Regions from separate parts of the Homo sapiens genome. Here region 2 is linked to region 1. The links are contacts of gene promoters, found by promoter capture Hi-C in blood cells and fetal thymus (Javierre and others, 2016). All regions are on one chromosome and are shown on one strand. Each heading gives the region's core, a stretch centred on a gene start or on the middle of the fragment in contact. The rest is flanking DNA. Distances are from core to core; before and after follow the strand shown. Region 1 holds the start of IRF2BPL (interferon regulatory factor 2 binding protein like). Region 2 has its middle 5.2 kb from the start of RBM25.

What was found. The method cuts DNA at HindIII sites, captures the fragments that hold promoters and counts their contacts. A CHiCAGO score of 5 or more calls a contact.
Region 2: a contact is called between a fragment that was not itself captured here and the fragment with the promoter of IRF2BPL in region 1, in 1 of 17 cell types (neutrophils). The highest score is 7.1, in neutrophils.

Annotation. Positions count from the first base shown.
Region 1 is chr14:77,027,458-77,031,338 of GRCh38, forward strand. It overlaps IRF2BPL (interferon regulatory factor 2 binding protein like), which reads right to left and starts at 1,251. Exons shown (of 1, transcript NM_024496.4): 1 at 1-1,251. The coding sequence starts at 335. It overlaps LOC107984638 (a long non-coding RNA gene), which reads left to right and starts at 11. Exons shown (of 4, transcript NR_190002.1): 1 at 11-354; 2 at 1,831-2,023; 3 at 2,204-2,279; 4 at 2,370-3,881. RefSeq lists silencers at 381-880, 1,001-1,210, 1,411-1,540 and an enhancer at 2,304-2,824. The HindIII fragment of the contact is 11,624 bases long and covers 1-3,881 here.
Region 2 is chr14:73,051,294-73,055,465 of GRCh38, forward strand. No RefSeq gene overlaps it. Among named protein-coding and RNA genes, the nearest start is that of RBM25, 5.2 kb to the right of the region's middle. The HindIII fragment of the contact is 4,879 bases long and covers 1-3,964 here.

The sequences.
Region 1 (3,881 bases), core at 1-2,500:
TGCTGCTGCTGCTGTTGCTGTTGCTGTTGCGCGGCGGCGGCGGCGGCCGCCGCTGCTGCCGCCGCCGCCGCCGCTTCCTTAGCCGACAGGGCCACTGTCTTGACCCCGACGGGCGGCGGCGGCCCGGGGGAGCGGCCGTCCTGGAAGCAGCCGTGCGCCCGCTTCAGCTGGCGCGCTGTCTCGATCACGAATTCGATGCGATCAGCGCCCTCGTAGTTGACGCAACCGCGGCATACGGGTTCCGAGAAGTCCCAGATCATGGCCCAGGGCATGCGGGGCAGGTCGCACAGGTAGCAAGATTGTCTCCGGGACGAGGACACCTGCGCCGCCGACATGATGCCTGCCCTGGGGAAGGTAGGCCCCCGCCCGGGCTGTCTCCGCGGCGCCTTCTCCTCCGGGAGGACTGGCCGGCTGGGGAGGGAGTCCGACTGCGGGGGAGGGAGGAGGGGGGGCGAGAAAGTTCTGCCCCAGGGGCTGGAGGGAACGCGAGTCTCCACCGCCGGCGCAGCGCCTCGCCGTGGGGGCTCCACCGCCCGGGCAGCGGACGGGTTCAGCCCTCTCTTCGCCCCCACCTCCTACTGCGGTTGACTCGTCGCGAGGGGAGCTCAGGCGCCTTCTTCCTGGTGCTGCAGACTTGGGCTGGAAGCTCCCGGCCCGAGGGGAGGGGGCGAGGGTGCCCGGTGGTGGCCGCCGTTGCCTCTTGGCCCCCTCCCCGGAGTGGCTGGTGCGTGGAAGCTCGAAAGGGGCTGTCTCTTCCTCTCCCCGGGGACCCCCCTACGAGCTGCGTCCTCTCCCCGACGGGCCCCCTGGGGCGAGGGCCAGAGGGTTCAGTGCCACCCGGTGCCCGGGTCCAATCTTGCTGAAGCCGCTGCTTCCCCGGAGGACCGGGGGAGGGGGTGGCAGCCGAGAAAGGACCTTCTCCCCTCCGCAGCGTCGGCCGTTCTGCTGGCGGCGACTGGGTTTGCACCCCGGAGGGAGCCGCCGCGGCCACTGCTTCCAGGACGCACGAGAGCAGAGGAGAGGAGTGCACGCACGCAGGCTCCCGCCGCCCCCAGGCCTGGCCGGCGCCCGGGCCGCCGCGGCTGGCGGCGCTCACGTTGGCTGCAGGGCGCTCGCGCGGCGCCTCGGCCCGGGTCGCATCCCTTCCCGCTCGTGCTCACGCTCGCCCGGAATGTGGGGTTGTGATTGTTACTCTACGTTCCGGAGGCGCGTCTCGGCGCTCCTGCTCCGGCTGCGGCTCGCGCTGTCCCCGGCTTGGCCGCGCGGGATGCCGCCCGGGCGGAGCGCTGACGTCACCGCCATGCTCTGCACCAGTTCTTCCCCCTCCCCTTTACACTTCCTCTGTGGAGCCCACTTGTTGCTCAGGCAAGGCGCATGCGCGGCAGGACGCCCAGATTCCTCCCAGCCGGCCCCTCCTCCGCGCCTCCGCCCTCCCCTCCCCCCTCGCCGTGTGTGTACAACAGCTGAGGCCCGGCGAGCTAATGCTGGAAGTCCAGAGCTGGGGGTGGAAATTAAACAGACGATGACCTTTCCTTTCCCTGCCGGGCATTCCCAAGTAAAAACGCATTTAAGAACCACTAGCGTCGTTTCCGATCCCTGCTCCCCACCCCACCCCCAAGCCTCGGCAGTGAATTTAAATGTCCTGTTTCAGGATTTTTCGCCGTGAATTTCGTATAAGGTATTAACCATTTCATCTGCGGTTGAACCTTATCCCCCCCGGCATGGATGTTAAATTCATCGCCACCACTGATGCCGAAGCACCTGCAAAATTAGCTGTTTTCCAATCTTCCAGAAATTGTCTTTTCTATTTGTTTTTGTGCCCTGATCTAGGAACCCGGGCTTCAACGATAGAGCTAAATGAATTCAGAGTGCGCTACCCTTCCCCCCAGCCGCACTTTAAAAATTTTGGCTGAACGTCTGAAGAAGATACGAGCACCCCGAGGCCTTTAAGGAAAACAGGCAACTGGCTGCGCACAGCTGCAGTTCAGGGCAGGGAGGGGGAGGGGCCGGAGAGGCCAAACAGGTGAGTGTTTTTTCTAGAGTTTGATTTTTAAAAGGTGGAGGCAGCATTTAATAATACTGATACATTTTTGTAAAGCACAGCCGCAGTTTTCAAAGTTCTTTCTCAGGCGCTGTGATCTCACTCCATGTTGCCCCAGAAGGCGGAACAAGGCCGTGATTTTTTTTTTTTTTTTTTTTTAAGACGGAGTCTTGCTCTGTCGCCCAGGCTGGAGTGCAAAATGGCGCGATCTCGGCTCACTGCAACCTCTGCCTCGCAGGTTCAAGCGATTCTTCCGCCTCAGCCTCCCAAGTAGCTGTGATTACCGGCACCCGCCATCAGGCCCAGCTAATTTTTTGTATTTTTGTAGAGACATGGTTTCACCATGTTAGCCAGCTGGTCTTGAACTCCTGACCTCAGGTGATCCTCCCGCCTCGGCCTTCCAAAGTGCTGGGATTACAAGCATGAACCACCACGCCCGGCCAAGGCCGTGATTTCTTCTGCCTTACAAGATCACTGCTCATCAGTATTGCTTATGGCACGATGGATATGTTGGTCATAGCTCTAGTTGGGGCATTTCTATTGATTATTCTAATTATTGGGTTTGCTTTTTTTTTTTTTTTTATTTCATGAAAACTGAGATAATCCCAGGGAAGGCTGGAGAAGGGAAAGCAATATAATGGGATTTCGGATTCTGAAGTGTGGCCCACCAGATTGAAATTTCCTCTCCATCACTAACTGGCTCTCCACCCTTAAGCTAGTTACCCACAAAATCTCTCTTTTCCATGGAAAAGAGAATGGAATGATAGCTCCCAGGTTGTTAGGGTTGTTTGAGATTTCAACTTCGGTTTTTTGTTTTTTTGAGATAGGATCTTGTTCTGTTGCCCAGGCTGGAGTGCAGTGGCACACTCGCGGCTGGCAGCAGCCTGACCTCCCAGGCTCAAGTAATCCTCCCACCTCAGCCTCCCTAGTAGCTGGGACTACAGGCATGTGCCATTACACCTGGCCAATTTTTTTGTATTTTTGGAAAGGGATGGGGTTTTGCCGTGTTGCCCAGGCTGGTCTCAAACTCCTGGGCCCAAGTGATGCACCCACCTTGGCCTCCCAAAGTGTTGGGATTACAGGCATGAGCCACCTCACCCGGCCTCAATTTGTTTCTTGTCATAAGAAGAGATAACGCTTACTTAGACTTGCCGTGGGACCTTAGTAAACTAGGTGGCTTTACTTGCATCACCCTTAATATTATCTACATTATTAAGGGGATATTATCTATAGTATTTTGTTGTTGTTTTGAGACAGAGTCCACTCTGTCACCCAGGCTGGAGTACAGTGACGCAATCTCAGCTCACTGCAACCTCCACCTCCCAGGTTCAAGCAATTCTCCTGCCTCAGTCTCCCAAGTACCTGGGGATACAGGCGCCCGCCACCACACCCAGCTCATTTTTGTATTTTTAGTAGAGACGGACTTTCACCATGTTGGCCAGGCTGGTCTCGAACTCCTGACCTCAGGTGATCCTCCCGCCTCAGCCTCCCAAAGTGCTGGGATTACAGGCATGACCCACCGTGACCGGCCTATTACAGTATTAAACCCTTAATATTATCTACAGGGTAGATTCTTTTACCTCCATTTTACAAACCAGGAAAGTAAAGAGGCTATATAACTTGCCTACAGCCATTAGTGATGGGGCTGGGATTTGAATCCAGTAAATCTGATTTGAGGTGTCTTTGACAAGCTCAGGCTTGCAGAGGTGGTTTGGGGTGCTCAAAATTCCCATCAGCCCCAGTTGATTTGGTGTTACATACAATCTTACGTAAGTACTATGCCAATACACCTTCATAACCAACCCCCAGCCTCCCCTTCCAAGCGCATTTGTACCACTGA
Region 2 (4,172 bases), core at 275-2,774, 4.0 Mb before region 1:
CAGGCGCCCGCCACCACGCCCGGCTAATTTTTTGTATTTTTTAGTAGAGACGGGGTTTTACCGTGTTAGCCAGGATGGTCTCGATCTCCTAACCTTGTGATCCGCCCGCCTCGGCCTCCCAAAGTGCTGGGATTACAGGCGTGAGCCACTGTGCCTGGTCTTTTTTGCCAATATTAAATACAGTTTTACTTAAGACATTGTATTTTCTACTTAAAGTGCAGTGCTTATAAGTGCAATGCTATTTCCTTCCCCTGTGCTCATGTTCCATATTCAAGATTTTTTTTTTTTTTTTTTTTTTTTGAGACAGAGTCTTGCTCTGTCACCCAGGCTAGAGTGCAGTGGCACGATCTCAGCTCACTGCCAGCTCCACCTCCCGGGTTCACGCCATTCTCCTGCCTCAGCCTCCCGAGTAGCTGGGACTACAGGCGCCCGCCACCACGTCTGGCTAATTTTTTTGTATTTTTAGTAGAGACAGGGTTTCACTGTGTTAGCCAGGATGGTCTTGATCTCCTGACCTCGTGATCCACCCGCCTTGGCCTCCCAAAGTGCTAGGATTACAGGCGTGACCCACCGCGCCCGGCCAACATTTTTTTTTGATGGTGACTTTCAATATATCAAAAGTTCTTAATATAGTTGGATTTGTCAATCTTTTCTGTTTAGGTTATGCTTATAGTATCTTCCTTAAGAAATCCTTCCTGTCGGGGCACAGTGGCTCATGGCTGTAATCCTAGCACTTTGAGAGGCCGAGGCGGGCAGATCACTTTTGAGGTCAGGAGTTCGAGACCAGCCTGGCCAACAAGGTGAAACCCCGTCTCTATTAAAAATACGAAAATTAGCTGGGCGTGGTTGTGGGCGCCTGTAATCCCAGCTACTCCGGAGGCTGAGGCAGGAGAATTCCTTGAACTTGGAAGGCGGAGGTTGCAGTGAGCCAAGATCACGCCACTGCACTCCGGCCTGGGTGACAAAGTAAAACTCTGTCTCAAAAAAAAGAAAAAAAAAAGAAAAAAGAAAAAAGAAATCTTTCCCTATCATGAATTCATAAGATGTTCTCAAAGTTTTAAGGTTTTATCATTGATAATTAATATGTTCATTTCAACAATTGCTAAAAAAGAATTCCATAAAATTCAACATCTATTGATGACTAATTTATTTATTTATTTACTTATTTCTTCTACAGAGTGGGACAGGGTCTCACTCTGTCACCCAGGGTGAAGTACAATGGTGTGATCATGGTTCATGCAGCCTTGACCTGTGCCCCACCATGCCTGGCTAATTACAAAAAAAATTTTTTTAGAAACAGAGTCTCCCTATGTTGCCCAGACTGGTCTCAAACTCCAAGACTCAAGTGATCCTCCTGTCTTGGCCTCGCAATGCACTGGGATTATAGGCGTTAGCCACTGTCCTCAGCCTAAGAAAAATCCCTTTAAAGATTTCCTATGTAGTCTTTTTATATTCCATATCTAATATTTCAATATCTGAATTGGGAATTTAAGTCTGTTGGTTTTGTGTGTGCACATGTGTGTATGTGTGTGTGATGCTGCATTTATGGTGGCTCATTCCTAATATTCTTGGCACTTTAATTTTTTTTTAGACAGTCTCACTCTGTTGCCCAGGCTGGAGTGCAGTGGAGCGATTTCAGCTCACTGCAACCTCCACCTCCCAAGTTCACCTGATTCTCCTGCCTCAGCCTCCTGAGTAGCTGGGACCACAGGCATGTGCCACCACGCACGGCTAATTTTTGTACTTTAGTGGAGATGGGGTTTCACCATGTGGGCCAGGCTGGTCTTGAACTCCTGAGCTCAAAGCAATCCACCTCCTCGGCCTCCCAAAGTGCTGGGATTAGAGGTGTGAGCCGCCATGCCTGGCCCTTGGCCTTTTTTTTTTTTTTTTTAAGACAGAGTTTCACTCTTGTTACCCAGGCTGGAGTGCAATGCTGTGATCTTGGCTCACCACACCCTCCACCTTCCAGGTTCAAGCGATTCTCCTGCCTCAACCTCCTGAGTAGCTGGGATTATAGGCATGCACCACCATGCTTGGCTAATTTTTTGTATTTTTAGTAGAGACGGGATTTCTCCATGTTGGTCAGGCTGGACTCAAACTCCTGACCTCTGGTGATCCGCTTGCCTCAGCCTCCCAAAGTGCTGGAATTACAGGTGTGAGCCACATTGCCCGGTCAATTTTTTTTTTTGACTAAGTCTCGCTGTGTCACCCAGGGTGGAGTGCAGTGGTGCCATCTTGGCTCACTGCAACCTCCGCCTCCTGGGTTCAGGCAATTCTCCTGCCTCAGCCTCCCAAATAGCTGGGACTACAGGTGAGTGCCACCACACCTGGCTAAGTTTTGTATTTTTAGTAGAGACAGGGTTTCTCCATGTTGGTCAGGCTGGTTTCAAACTCCTGATCTCAGGTGATCCACCCGCCTCAGCCTCCCAGAGCGCTGGGATTACAGGCGTGAGCCATCATGCCTGGCCTGCATTTTTAAATTTTAAGCTCACATTTGATATCAGAATCCTGAAGCCTAAATTAGGGATTCTTTTCTCCATGGGAACTATGTTTGCTTCTGTCAAGAGCCTAGGACTATTACTAACAAGGGAGCACTTTAACATCCTTTCAGAGTCCTGACTTAACTTGGTAAACTTCAGTTACTCCACCTTGCTGGGTAGTCCAGCCTTGATCTCTAGATTCTGTGTTAATGTGCTTCCTCTCTCTATCTTCTTCTCTCTATATACACATATATATTATATATATTCACATATATTATATATATAATGGCATTATATGTATTATATTTATATATTTTATGCCATTATATACTATATAATGGCATTGTATATATATATATATTTATGTATGTATATGTATTTATGTGTGTGTATATATATATATATATATATATATATATATATATAATGATGGCCATGCATACACACGCAAACACACACACACACACAAGCAATCCTCTCTCCTCATGATTGAGACTACAGGTGTGTGCTACTGTGCTGGGCTCCAGTTTCAATTTTTGAGAAGATCTGCTCAGTTCCAGCTAAACAACATTTTTCCTGGTATGCTGCTGTTTAGTTGGGTCAGATGTGGCCAATGAGAATAGGGTCCAGGCCAGGTGTGGTGGCTCATGCCTGTAATCCCAGCATTTTGGGAGGCTGTGGCAGGTGGATCACCTGAGGTCGGGAGTTGGAGACCGGCCTGGCTAACATGGAGAAACCCCACCTCTACTAAAAATACAAAATTAGCTCGGCATGGTGGCATGTGCCTGTAATCCCAGCTACTTGGGAAGCTATGCCAGGAGAATCGCTTGAACCTGGGAGGCGGAAGTTGCGGTGAGCCGAGATCATGCCATTGCATTCCAGCCTGGGCAATGAGAACAAAACTCCATCTCAAAAAAAAAAAAAAGAAAAAAAAAAGAATGGTGTCCAAATGCACACAGAATGTAATATCCAAATTAATTATCTACAGTTTCCTTAGCAAGGATTTGTAAGAAAAAAATAGAAGGAGGATAACTGGCATCGCAAATGAATGGCTTGGCTTGTTCTCTACAAGTGGTATATAAGTGTATCATTTAGAGTTCTTTCTGTGTAAGGAATAGAAAACTCAACTCAAACTGATTTCGGAAAAGTAATGTATTGGGTTACATACTGATAAGCCTAGAACAGCTGGCTTTAGGAGTAGCTGAGCCAGCCGGGCTCAGTGTAATCCTGGCTTTTGGGAGGCTGAGGTGGGAGAATCGCTGGAGCCTGGAAAGTTGAGGCTGCAGTGAGCCGTGATCATGCCACTGCACTCTAGCCGGGACAACAAAGGGAGACCCTATCTCAAATAACAACAGCAATAACAAACCAAAAAACAAACAAAATGAATGAATGAACCATTTTCTCAACTGATATTGTCAAAAATCTCTCACCCTGTCTTACTTCTGCTTTCTTCTGTGATTTCATTCTCATCCCCATCTATTCTAAGCTTAAATCCTCCTAAGCTTAAATTGAAAAAAAAAAATCAATTTAAATGAAAAATATAGAGACCCCTCCCCTTCTTTTTAGGATTATTCCTGAAAGGATGAAGCAGTATAATGTTCCAGAGCACGAACTCAGGAACCAGACTGGCTCACTTACTATTTTTGTAGCCTTTGATAGGTTAATTTTTGCAAGCCTTGGTTTCTTCATTTG